Linked DNA regions of Homo sapiens: regions 1 and 3 are each linked to region 2. Evidence: promoter capture Hi-C in 16 types of primary human blood cells and fetal thymus (Javierre and others, 2016). All regions are on one chromosome and are shown on one strand. Each heading gives the region's core, a stretch centred on a gene start or on the middle of the fragment in contact. The rest is flanking DNA. Distances are from core to core; before and after follow the strand shown. Region 1 overlaps RAB3IP (RAB3A interacting protein). Region 2 holds the start of C12orf56 (chromosome 12 open reading frame 56). Region 3 holds the start of ATP23 (ATP23 metallopeptidase and ATP synthase assembly factor homolog).

Region 1 (3,242 bases), core at 605-3,104, 5.4 Mb after region 2:
AGCATTGCTACTACAGTTACTTTTAAGTCTAGTGCTTATCAAGCGAAGTCCTGGTGTAAGCTTTATACTCATTTACTCTCAGAGTGAGCGAGGAGATAATACTTTATCCCTATTTTGTAGTTGAGAAAATTGAGACCCTGAGACCTTATGTAGTTTGCTCAACGTCACATAGTTAATTAAGTGACAGGTCTAGATTAGATGTCAGACAGTTTGTCTTCCATGTCTGTGCTCTTAACCACTACACTCTGTCATTTCTTCATGTATAAGTGGTAATGCTAAAGAATTGTTTGCTCATAATCACTACATTATCACTTCTTTATGTGTAGCTTATAATGCTGAAGAACTTTGTAATTTAGCTTTTATGAGATACGTAATGTTAATGTAATATGTAATTCTCATTGTGTCACCAGAGATTTTTTTAAATCAAATACTCATTGAGCATCTACTCTGCAAGTCACAGTAGGGGTTAAAGGAAACTGTTCTTAAGGAATATGGAAGGTAGGGCCTTATAATCATTCCCATATCTTTTATAAGTTCTTCAAAATGTAGAACGCACTTTACATATTTTAATGAATGTCAACTAAGACAAAGTGCTAGGATAGTTGAGTAGTGGAGAGGAAGGACAGATGGATAGTGGGTAGAGATATTTGTGCATTGAGGTAATGAGGGAAAGCTTTGAAGATATTCCAAGGGAGTACGCTTTTTCACACTAAACTTTTTTCCGATATAATTCTGATTAAGATGCAGTTCATCAAAGGATAGTAAATTGGTTACTACGCATTTGATATCCTAAAAACAAAATATCTGAGCTTTTGTAAACTGCTTTCTAGCTTGTTTCTCCTTTTTTATGCTACTATCCTTAGTTGTACCAGATGGTACTCTTTTTAAAAATTTTATGCTTTTATAATACTGAGTACCTCTTTTTTGGTATTTATGAACTTTGATATTTGTGTTGTATTTGTAATTGTTTCTAGGGCCCTAGAAACATGTTTATTGGCAAGGTGGTCTCTTCCTCTAGTCTACAAGTGCTTCGAGAGTAGGGCTTACCTCATTTTATAGCTTTAACATCGGGCCAGGTAAGTACTGTGCTGTGTTTGGTGATGGATGATCAGTTGAAGAATGTTAGGATGTTTTGAAGCTGCTCTAGCAGTAGAAATTGAAATGAACATTGAGAAATGAAGGGACAAAGGAAGGAAGAGGAAGATATTTATACAACTGGGAGCATTAACTTGCTATCTCTATTTTCCCTTCTGCTTTCCTTTTCAACTTACCACTAAATGAGGTAGTTTTATAAGCTTACATCGTACATAGTCATGGTTAGAGAAAAGTGGAAAAAGTAATCTGATTTATCTTAGAATATAGGGCAACACGAAATTAGATAACTATAGCCGTAAACTGATATTACTTAGAGGAAAAAGAATGAAAATTATTCAAATAGTTCAAGTTCATGAAAGATTTGATGCTTGTCGTTAACAGTAGGATTGTAAATATAATCATAATGGCAGTTGATGAAATTCCTCTGAGGGGTATGGATACATACACAAATAAGTATATGAATTGACAGCTTAGTATGAAGAAACTATTCAAGAATGTGAGAATGCCCTATGAGCATAAAGGAGCATATAGATGATAGCTTAGAACCACTTAAATAAGTGAATTGTAATTTGATATGCCCAGATAAAAGTAATAGTATTGAATATTTGTTTGGGAGCATCTGGTTGTCAGATAAGGATAAAGTATAAAAGAAAAACCAAAATAAGTTTGAAAAAACAATAAGCAAATTTGTATCAATTCCCTGTGGGGAAAAGAATCATATTTGAACTACATGCCTCATAAAGACTAGTTTTCCCTTTCTTTCCTTTTACCTAAGATAAATAAAGATACCTTCTGATTTGTAAGACAAACCCCTCAGTATGCTTTTGCTATTTCCCCCATTACATTTTTTTCTTTCTTAGATCTTTATAAAATCATACATTTATGTTGTGCTTTACAATGTATACATTTTTACATTGATATGCCATTTGATTTTCTCAAATGTAGGCAGGGGAGATAATATCACTACCATTATAGATGTCAAAACTGAACCTTAGAGAGATTAAATGACTTGCGTCAGTTCACACAGCTTGTCAGTGACAGAATCTGAACTAGAAGGAAGGTTTTCTGAAGTTAGTCTGTTAAAATGCTCAGGTTTTCTCAAACTTCAATTTCTCCAGTTTTGATACTCTCGCAAAGTATTTACTGTTTCATTTCTATCTTTTTCAGCAAAAATGTAGCCTGAATAACTGTCTCCACTCTTTACCGCTTTGCTATTCATTCCTTCTCTAAAGACTCTTGTTTATTTATTTAGTCAGTGCGTATTTCAGCACCTGTTGAATGTTTAGTTGGCATATATTCTTAAGAGAATATGTAAAATGAAGCTTCCATTATTGAGAAAAAGAAATTTGGAAAATGATTTTTTTAAAAAATTATACTTTTAAGTTCTGGGATACATGTGCAGAATGTGCAGGTTTGTTACATAGGTATACACGTGCCATGGTGGTTTGCTGCACCGGTCAACCCATCATCTACCTTAGGTATTTCTCCTAATGCTATCCCTCCCCTAGCCCGCCACTCCCCCACAGGCCCTGGTGTGTGATATTCCCCTCCCTGTGTCCGTGTGTTCTCATTGTTCATCTCCCACTTATGAGTGAGAACATGCGGTGTTCTGTTAATTTAAATAAATATTTAATTACAAATAAATATTTGTAATTAAATATTAGCTCATTGTATTATTACAAATAATTATTTGTAATTAAATATAATATTAGCTCATAAGTTCAGAACATTTTCTGAAAACTGTCAACATAACACACTGCAATAACTAACATCTCTACACATGTCAGGTTGTACATTGAAGTGTTGTGGAATTAGGCCGGGCATGGTGGCTCACACCTGTAGTCCCAGCACTTGGGAGGTTGAGGCAGACAGTTACTTGAGGTCAGGAGTTCGAGACAAGCCTGGTCAACATGGCAAAACCCCATCTCTACTAAAAATACAAAAAATTAGCTGGGTGTGGTGGCAGGCGCCTGTAATCCCAGCTATTCAGGAGACAGATGTTGCAGTGAGCCGAGATTGTGCCACTGCACTCCAGCCTGGGCGACAGAGCGAGACTGCATCTCAAAAAAAAAAAAAAAAAAGTATTGTGGAATTAGTGGGAATTCATTTGTGATCTATTATAATAAAAATGGGAAAATTGTGTAGCC
Region 2 (3,285 bases), core at 531-3,030:
TTCCGAGTAGAAAAAAAATCTTTTTTTTTCATTTAATTTTATTCTTTTCTTACAGACTCGTTCAAAACAAGCCATGACTCCTCAGCAAAACAGCTCCATCAAGCGTCTCGCCAACCTCTCCCTTGGGGCTCAGTCAAGGGAATGAAAAAACGAGGCTAGACACCTGTCCCCAACGGAAAAACCAAGAACACACCTGGAGAGCAGCTCAGACAAAGGGAGCCAGGCGGGGAAAACAGTAATTGGAGAGGAGACCGTGCTTCCAGTCTGTTGCTGGTTTACAAGGTAAATCTATTCCTGGACGAAAGGGGTACAGGAACAGCACCCGAAAACCGGCGACAGGCTGTGGCAGGCCCGACGTCTTTCAAGCCCAGCTCCTAGCGTCGACGCCCCTCCTTCCAAGACGTTTCCCAGCAGGCCCTGCGCCCAGTTTGGATCAAGTGAGCCGCCTGAGATTGCCAAGCGTCCTGTGCGCATCTCATTAACGCATCTGCTTATTCATGCATTTATTCTTTTGCTGGGGAGGGGGTGGAGGGGAACGGTGTCTCACTCATTCTGTAGCTCAGGCTGGAGTGCAGGTGGGGCGATCTCGGCTCACGGCAACCTCCGCCTCCCAGGTTCAAGCGATTCTTGTGCCTCAGCCTCCCAAGTAGTTGGGATTACAGGTGCACACGACCACGCCTGGGTAATTTTTGTACTTTTGGTGGAGACGGCGTTTCACCATGTTGGCCAGCCTGGTCTCGAACCCCTGACCCCCGGTGATCTATCCACCTTGGCCTCCCAAAGTGTAAGGATTATAGGCGTGATCCACGGCACCCGGCCTTATGCATTTATTCTTATTGAGCATCTAACATGCTCTAAGCATCGGGGGCAAAAAAGTAAATGAGATATAACAGCACTTAACACACAGCATTTATTTGCACGGGTGTTGGCTTTCTAGCCCTCCAGCGACTGCTTCTAGGTAGGGGCCCTCTTTCGTTTTTGCATCCTCCGAGTCTAGCACAGTGCCTGGCACTGACTAGGTGCTTTGTTAACAAAGGAATGACTTTAAAAGGTATTTTTGATAGGGAGCTCGGTTCTCAAACCTGTAGCCCTACGTGGGGTAGGGGAGGCGGGAGAATGGGTGAACAGGCAGACACGAGGAGAATGGGAGACGTGTTTGTATTAGGAGTGCTCACAGCAATCCACAGCTTCCCTGTGTTCCTCGTTCTCAAATAAGAGGAGGGGAGTCGAGGGCAGGATGGGGCAGCCCTCCCCGCGCAGGAGGGCTGGGTTTGGGGGCCCCAGCCGGGAGTTCTCACTGCGCTCCCGAGCCCGCCTGCCCACCCGCGCCGCTCACCAGGTCAATGGCCACGACGTCCCGCAGAGCCACTACCCGCCGGATGGACTTGGGCGGGTTCTCGGTTAGGTAGACGAGCCGGTCGCTTAGCACCACATACTTGAGGATGTGGTTCTCAGAGTTGGACACCACGATGCATGGCTCGTAGGCGCGGACCGCGTCGTAGACCTCGGGCGGCAGATGCCGCCGCAGGAACACATCCAGGCGGCTGTTCCTGCGCGCGGGGAAGCCGGACGGCAAGGGGCTGGCCATGCCCGGCGCCCGCAGCGTGGCGGAGTGCTGGGACTCGAGGCCCTCAGCTCGCCCTCTCCCCGCCCCCGCGCTGGAACCCGCGCGCCACAAAGCCGCCGGCCACGCGTCGCCTCCTCTCCAGGCGCGGGGACCCGGGCCGCAACTGCAGGAATCGACGCTAGGTCGGCTTCCCTGGAGCGCCCTCCCCAGCCCTGTCCAGCCTCTCGATCTTTGTCCTAACCTCAGACGGCGATGGGCGGGGCAAGACGCTGGTCCTTCAGGCCCGAGTTGATGGGCACCTCGGGCTCATCACCGTGAAGTCCCCTGCGGCCGAAGGGCGGTGGATTTTTAGGGTCTCTCCCGCCCACCCCTAATGCCAGTCCCCACCACTGCGTACTCTGTTGCGGATCACACCATCCAATACAAACTTTATTGGTAATGGAAGCCAGCTTCAATCTGGTTTCCTGTTAGAAACTTGAAAGAGTTTAATTTACCGATTTATTTTTAACAACCCTAGAAACCTATTAAACCCAATCACACAGATTTAGCTTTTGGTTATAACATGGCCTGGCACAGCTTTCTGATATTGTCGGAGTGTAAACATAGGTCTTCTTTCTCCAACCAGTGAGAAAGGGATTTTTTTTTTCTTTTCTCTTTTTTTTTTTGAGACGCAGCTTTGCTCTTGTTGCCCAGGCTGGAGTGCAATGGCGCCATCTCGGCTCACCGCAACCTCCCCCTCCCGGGTTCAAGCGATTCTCCTACCTCAGCCTCCTGAGTAGCTGGAATTACAGGCATGCGCCACCACGCCCAGCTAATTTTGTATATTTTAGTAAAAACGGGGTTTCTCCATGTTGGTCAAGCTGATCTCCAACTCCCGACCTCAGGTAATCCGCCCGCCTCGGCCTCCCAAAGTGCTGGGATTACAGGCGTTAAGTCACCTCGCCCAGCCTTTGAGAAAGGGATTCTTCACATGAATTGATGTGAGCACACCCAAACCAACCTAAGGCATATGGTTTTGTTTCCAATGCCCAGGACAATCTATGCAGGAAGAATGAATGGGTGATGCTGGCATCTTGAAAAGTTGAAGCTGATAGACTGAAGAATGCGGATTACATACCCTGAGGCTGCAGAGGAGTAAGTATTCCTTAGTTTTTACAGGCCAAGAATAACTTACTAATTAGGTTAGAGAAATGAGAAGGGCACAACAGAAATGCTCTAAGTCAGAAGTTCCATTTTTTATTTCGAATCCTAGAAAAGTTATTCTCTTCCCCTCCCCATTGACCCAAAAACCTGATAATGAAACCATATCGTTCATTGCTGTGGCTGCCAGCAACCCTGAATCAAATTTGATATATTCTTTATATTCTCCCTTTCTACATATTTTATTATTGTATACTGTATGTTATAAGCAACTTCAAATCCCTTGTGGAAAGAAGGTATAAATATATTACAATCCATAAACAGATATTGTAGACTACACTAGTACAAAGGGAAAGAGAAATGTTTTGGTCTGGCTAAACTTTTTTTTTTTTTTTTTTTTTGAGACAGAGTCTCCCTCTGTCACCCAGGCTGGAGTGCAGTGGCATGATATCGGCTCACTGCAGCCTCTGCCTCCTGGGTTCAAGCCATTCTCCTGCCACAGCCTCCCAAGTAGCTTGGACTACAGGTGTACACCACCATGCCTGGCTAATTTTTTTTCTGTGTGTATTTTTAGTAGA
Region 3 (3,628 bases), core at 323-2,822, 6.4 Mb before region 2:
AATATATCTGTATAATAAACCTACACATAAACCACCTGAATCTATGTATTAAAAAAGAAAGCATGAAAAAAATCCAAATAGTATTTCAAATGTATATAGGCTATGGTCCATTTCTAGGCATATCTAGCCTGCCTTCAGTATTCCAAACTAATCACACTGAATTGTAATGGCTTAGTTTTCCATATGTGTGTTTTAGTTCAATAACTGGATTGAAAGCTAGTTGTGTGGTCCTAGATAAATTATTGAATTTTGCTGAGCCCACTTTATCTGCAAATTAGAGATAATACTTACTTTGCAGGGTTGTAGTGAGGATTGGAAATAATGTATCCAAGGTGAATTTAATTAAAAAGTAGTTACTTTTTTTTTGACTTCTGGCTTTAATAGTCTATGTACATAGGAGTTGTTTGTATTTTTATAATATTCCAGATGAATGACTATCCTAGCATCCCACTCAATTTAGATATTGAGCATCTATGACACATAAAGCACTGTTCATAACCCTAAAGGCCTGCTGAGCCTATATTTTTCAGATATGTTTCTTACATAAACCACATGCTGCTCTTCATCTTTAGCAATTTTCTTAGTCATGTGTTTCCTCAGTCTCTTACACCTTGCCTGGCCCATCATAGTAGGTGCTGAATAAATGTGTGAGCTGAGTGGAATAATTTAGTAGGAAAAGAGAAACACACAAATTGGATAAAACCTGGCAGGCTACGATGAAAATGATTAACAGGTACAAAGTGCTTTGTACATTGGGAGATCAGGAGACATTAATTTTGATTAAGGTATCTGGGAATGCCCTGTGGAGTAGGCAGATTTGACCTGGGCCCCAATCATAGGGGCTGAGGCAAGGAGCTTAAAGATGGAAATGACAGTATGAGTTAAGGCTGAGAGGTAGAAGTAAACAGGGTGCGCTTTGTTATCAGGGAGTTATTGGTGGGGGGTGGGGCAGAAGAGTAGGGTAAACGAATGGGTACAGGTGGGAAGAAAAAATGTAGTTGGTTCCTACATTTTGAGGATTTTGATGTGACTAGTCATTCTTTATAGTTTTAAAACGTTTCTGAAAAACACTGCTTTCAATATGGCCAGAGGCATCTTTGGGCAGAGTGGATCTGAGGGATGGCAGGGGTCGGGAAAGTGGCGGGCCAGAAATGACAACTGGCTTGCCCCGGAAGAAGGCAGGGAGTGGGAGGATGGCCGAGACCTTCGGCGGCACAAGAGCAGTTAGTGGCCAATATTCGCCCCGAGGTGAGGAAGGAGTGTCTGCGAGGAGGCGGGACACCCTTAGAGCTCAGCAGGCAGCAGGAAGCTGCAGAACAACGCTTATAAAGACATGTCACCCACACTGGGAGGGCAGCAGCGAAATCCGCGGCAGCCGGGTTGTTACAGCCTTTGAGGGAAGTCGCAAGACCCAGCTCCGCCCAACAGCATCGGGCCCCGCGCCCCGCCCCATGCCCTCGCCCCGCCCCTCATCCCTCGCCCCGCCCCTCGCCTCTCGCCCCGCCCCTCGCCTCTCGCCCCGCCTCCCGCGCTCCCCGTCAGGTTCAAAGCCCCCTCCCGCCTAACGTCTTCAGCCCAGCCAGGCTGCCCTTCTTCCCTGCGGAGGGAGGGCCTGGGCGGTCGCGTTGGCGGGAGGGAGGTTACCTTTCCCAGTCTCGCTCTGGCCGCCTGAGCCAGGAGGAAGCAGCGGCGAGGTCTGCGGGAGGCATGGCGGGAGCTCCGGACGAGCGCCGGCGGGGCCCCGCGGCAGGGGAGCAGCTGCAGCAGCAACACGTCTCTTGCCAGGTCTTCCCCGAGCGTCTGGCCCAGGGGAATCCCCAGCAAGGGTTCTTCTCCAGCTTCTTCACCAGCAACCAGAAGTGCCAGCTTAGGCTCCTGAAGACGCTGGAGACAAGTAGGAGCCATGACCTGGAGGCTGTGGTTCCACAGAATGGGTCTGAGACCGGGTGGGCGAGGAAGGGCCTGGGCAACACCTGGCCAGGGGCTTCAGGTTCAGCACAGAGTCTAGACAGACTGGGCATCATGGGGGCTGGGTTGGGAGCCTGAGGCTCAGTTTCCCCACTAGAGGTGGCGCTGAGACCCTTTTCGTCGCTGTTTTTGGCTTGTGGAATGAATTTGTCTGCCCTTTTTTGTCACTCACTGTTGTGACAGATCCTCCGATTTCTTACATAAGTTATGCAGCCACACTGTGACTTCAGGGTAAGGGTGAGGCCAAGTTTTAAAGTGCCAGCCAGGTTAATTAAGGCACACAAAGGCTGTAAAAATGTAAAAATGTAATTAAGGCATACCAAGGCTGTAAAAATATAAAAGCAGTTTTGCAAACCTACCGTTCCTTGGAAGTGGTTCATGCATGAATGGGCTTCAGAGCGTAGAAATCCCTGAAATGGTCTGTGAAATCGTGTGTATGTGTGTGTGTGTGCCCCTAAGTGCATTTTTTTTTTTTTTTTGAGACGGAGTCTCGCTCTGTCGCCCAGGCTGGGGTGCAGTGGCGCGATCTTTGCTCACTGCAAGCTCCGCCTACTGGGTTCACGCCGTTCTCCTGCCTCAGCCTCCCGAGTAGCTGGGACTACAGGCGCTCGCCACCACACCCTGCTAATTTTTTGTATTTTTAGTAGAGACGGGTTTTCACCGTGTTAGCCAGGATGGTCTTGATCTCCTGACCTCGTGATCTGCCTGCCTCGGCCTCCCAAAGTGCTGGGATTACAGGCGTGAGTCACTGCGCCCGGCCCAAAGTGTATTTTTTTTTGGTCGGGGGAGAGAGTTAATAGCTTCATCATATTCTCAAAGAGGCCAACGACCCCACAAAGGTTAAGAACTGCTGTGGGTTAAACAGGGACACAACTGCCCATTGACAAATTTCTCTCCCGTCCCAGAGACATTGCACTAGAGAAGATTTCTTAATTCCTTTACATTGACATAGACTTCTTAAGTTTACTTTCAGATACATTCAGAAAATTAGTCTTAAACATACTTGTCCCAAAGCAAGGTTACTATTTCATAGCTAGTCAGTCACAGTTCAAAAGTCAACCACCGAAAGATTTTCCAACCTTCTTGGGATTACCTGCTTGTAGAGACTCAGGGAGGTAGGAGGAGGAAGGGGAGTTGAGGGTAAAAGGGGAGAGAATGATGATATTGTATTTACTGTACAAATATGTATTGAGTGCCTCCCAGGTTCTGGTGGGGGAAGTAGAAAGATGAGTTAGCACCCTGCCTTGAAGGTGCTTCAAAGTGGAATAGAGTGGAAAGAGTATGGGTTGCAGAGTTAGATGTGGGTTCAAATGCGGATCCCTTTCCTCAGGTGTGGAAGGTGACTTAACTTCTCTGATCCTCACTATCCTTATTGTAAAAAAAGAGAAGGGGAAAATACCTTTTTTAGGGTTGTTGTGAAGAATAGATTTTATGGGGCTGGGTACGGTGGCTCATGCCTGTAATCTCAGCACTTTGGGGAGCCAAGGCAGGGGGATTGCTTGAGCTCAGATGTTTAAGACCAGCCTGGGTAATATAGGGAGACCCTGTCTCTACAAAAAATAAAAAAAATTAGCTGGATGTGGTGGCTCATGCCTGCAGTCCCAACTATTTAGGAGGCTGAGGCAGGAGATTTGCTTGAACCCAGGAGGCTGAGGCTGCA

Evidence for each region. Contacts are between HindIII fragments. The CHiCAGO score rates a contact against its expected background, and 5 or more counts as called.
Region 1: a contact is called between a fragment that was not itself captured here and the fragment with the promoter of C12orf56 in region 2, in 1 of 17 cell types (naive CD8 T cells). The highest score is 5.8, in naive CD8 T cells.
Region 3: the fragment with the promoter of ATP23 here is called in contact with the fragment with the promoter of C12orf56 in region 2 in 1 of 17 cell types (naive CD8 T cells); the score reaches 5.2 in naive CD8 T cells.

Annotation. Positions count from the first base shown.
Region 1 is chr12:69,741,534-69,744,775 of GRCh38, forward strand. The region is part of intron 1 of RAB3IP (RAB3A interacting protein); the gene reads left to right. Among named protein-coding and RNA genes, the nearest start is that of RAB3IP, 4.3 kb to the left of the region's middle. The HindIII fragment of the contact is 1,122 bases long and covers 1,294-2,415 here.
Region 2 is chr12:64,388,978-64,392,262 of GRCh38, forward strand. It overlaps C12orf56 (chromosome 12 open reading frame 56), which reads right to left and starts at 1,781. Exons shown (of 13, transcript NM_001170633.2): 1 at 1,337-1,781. The coding sequence starts at 1,588. The HindIII fragment of the contact is 6,871 bases long and covers 1-3,285 here.
Region 3 is chr12:57,939,995-57,943,622 of GRCh38, forward strand. ATP23 (ATP23 metallopeptidase and ATP synthase assembly factor homolog) reads left to right here and starts at 1,573. Exons shown (of 6, transcript NM_033276.4): 1 at 1,573-1,894. The coding sequence starts at 1,708. RefSeq lists enhancers at 1,442-2,251, 2,708-2,877. The HindIII fragment of the contact is 6,393 bases long and covers 1-3,628 here.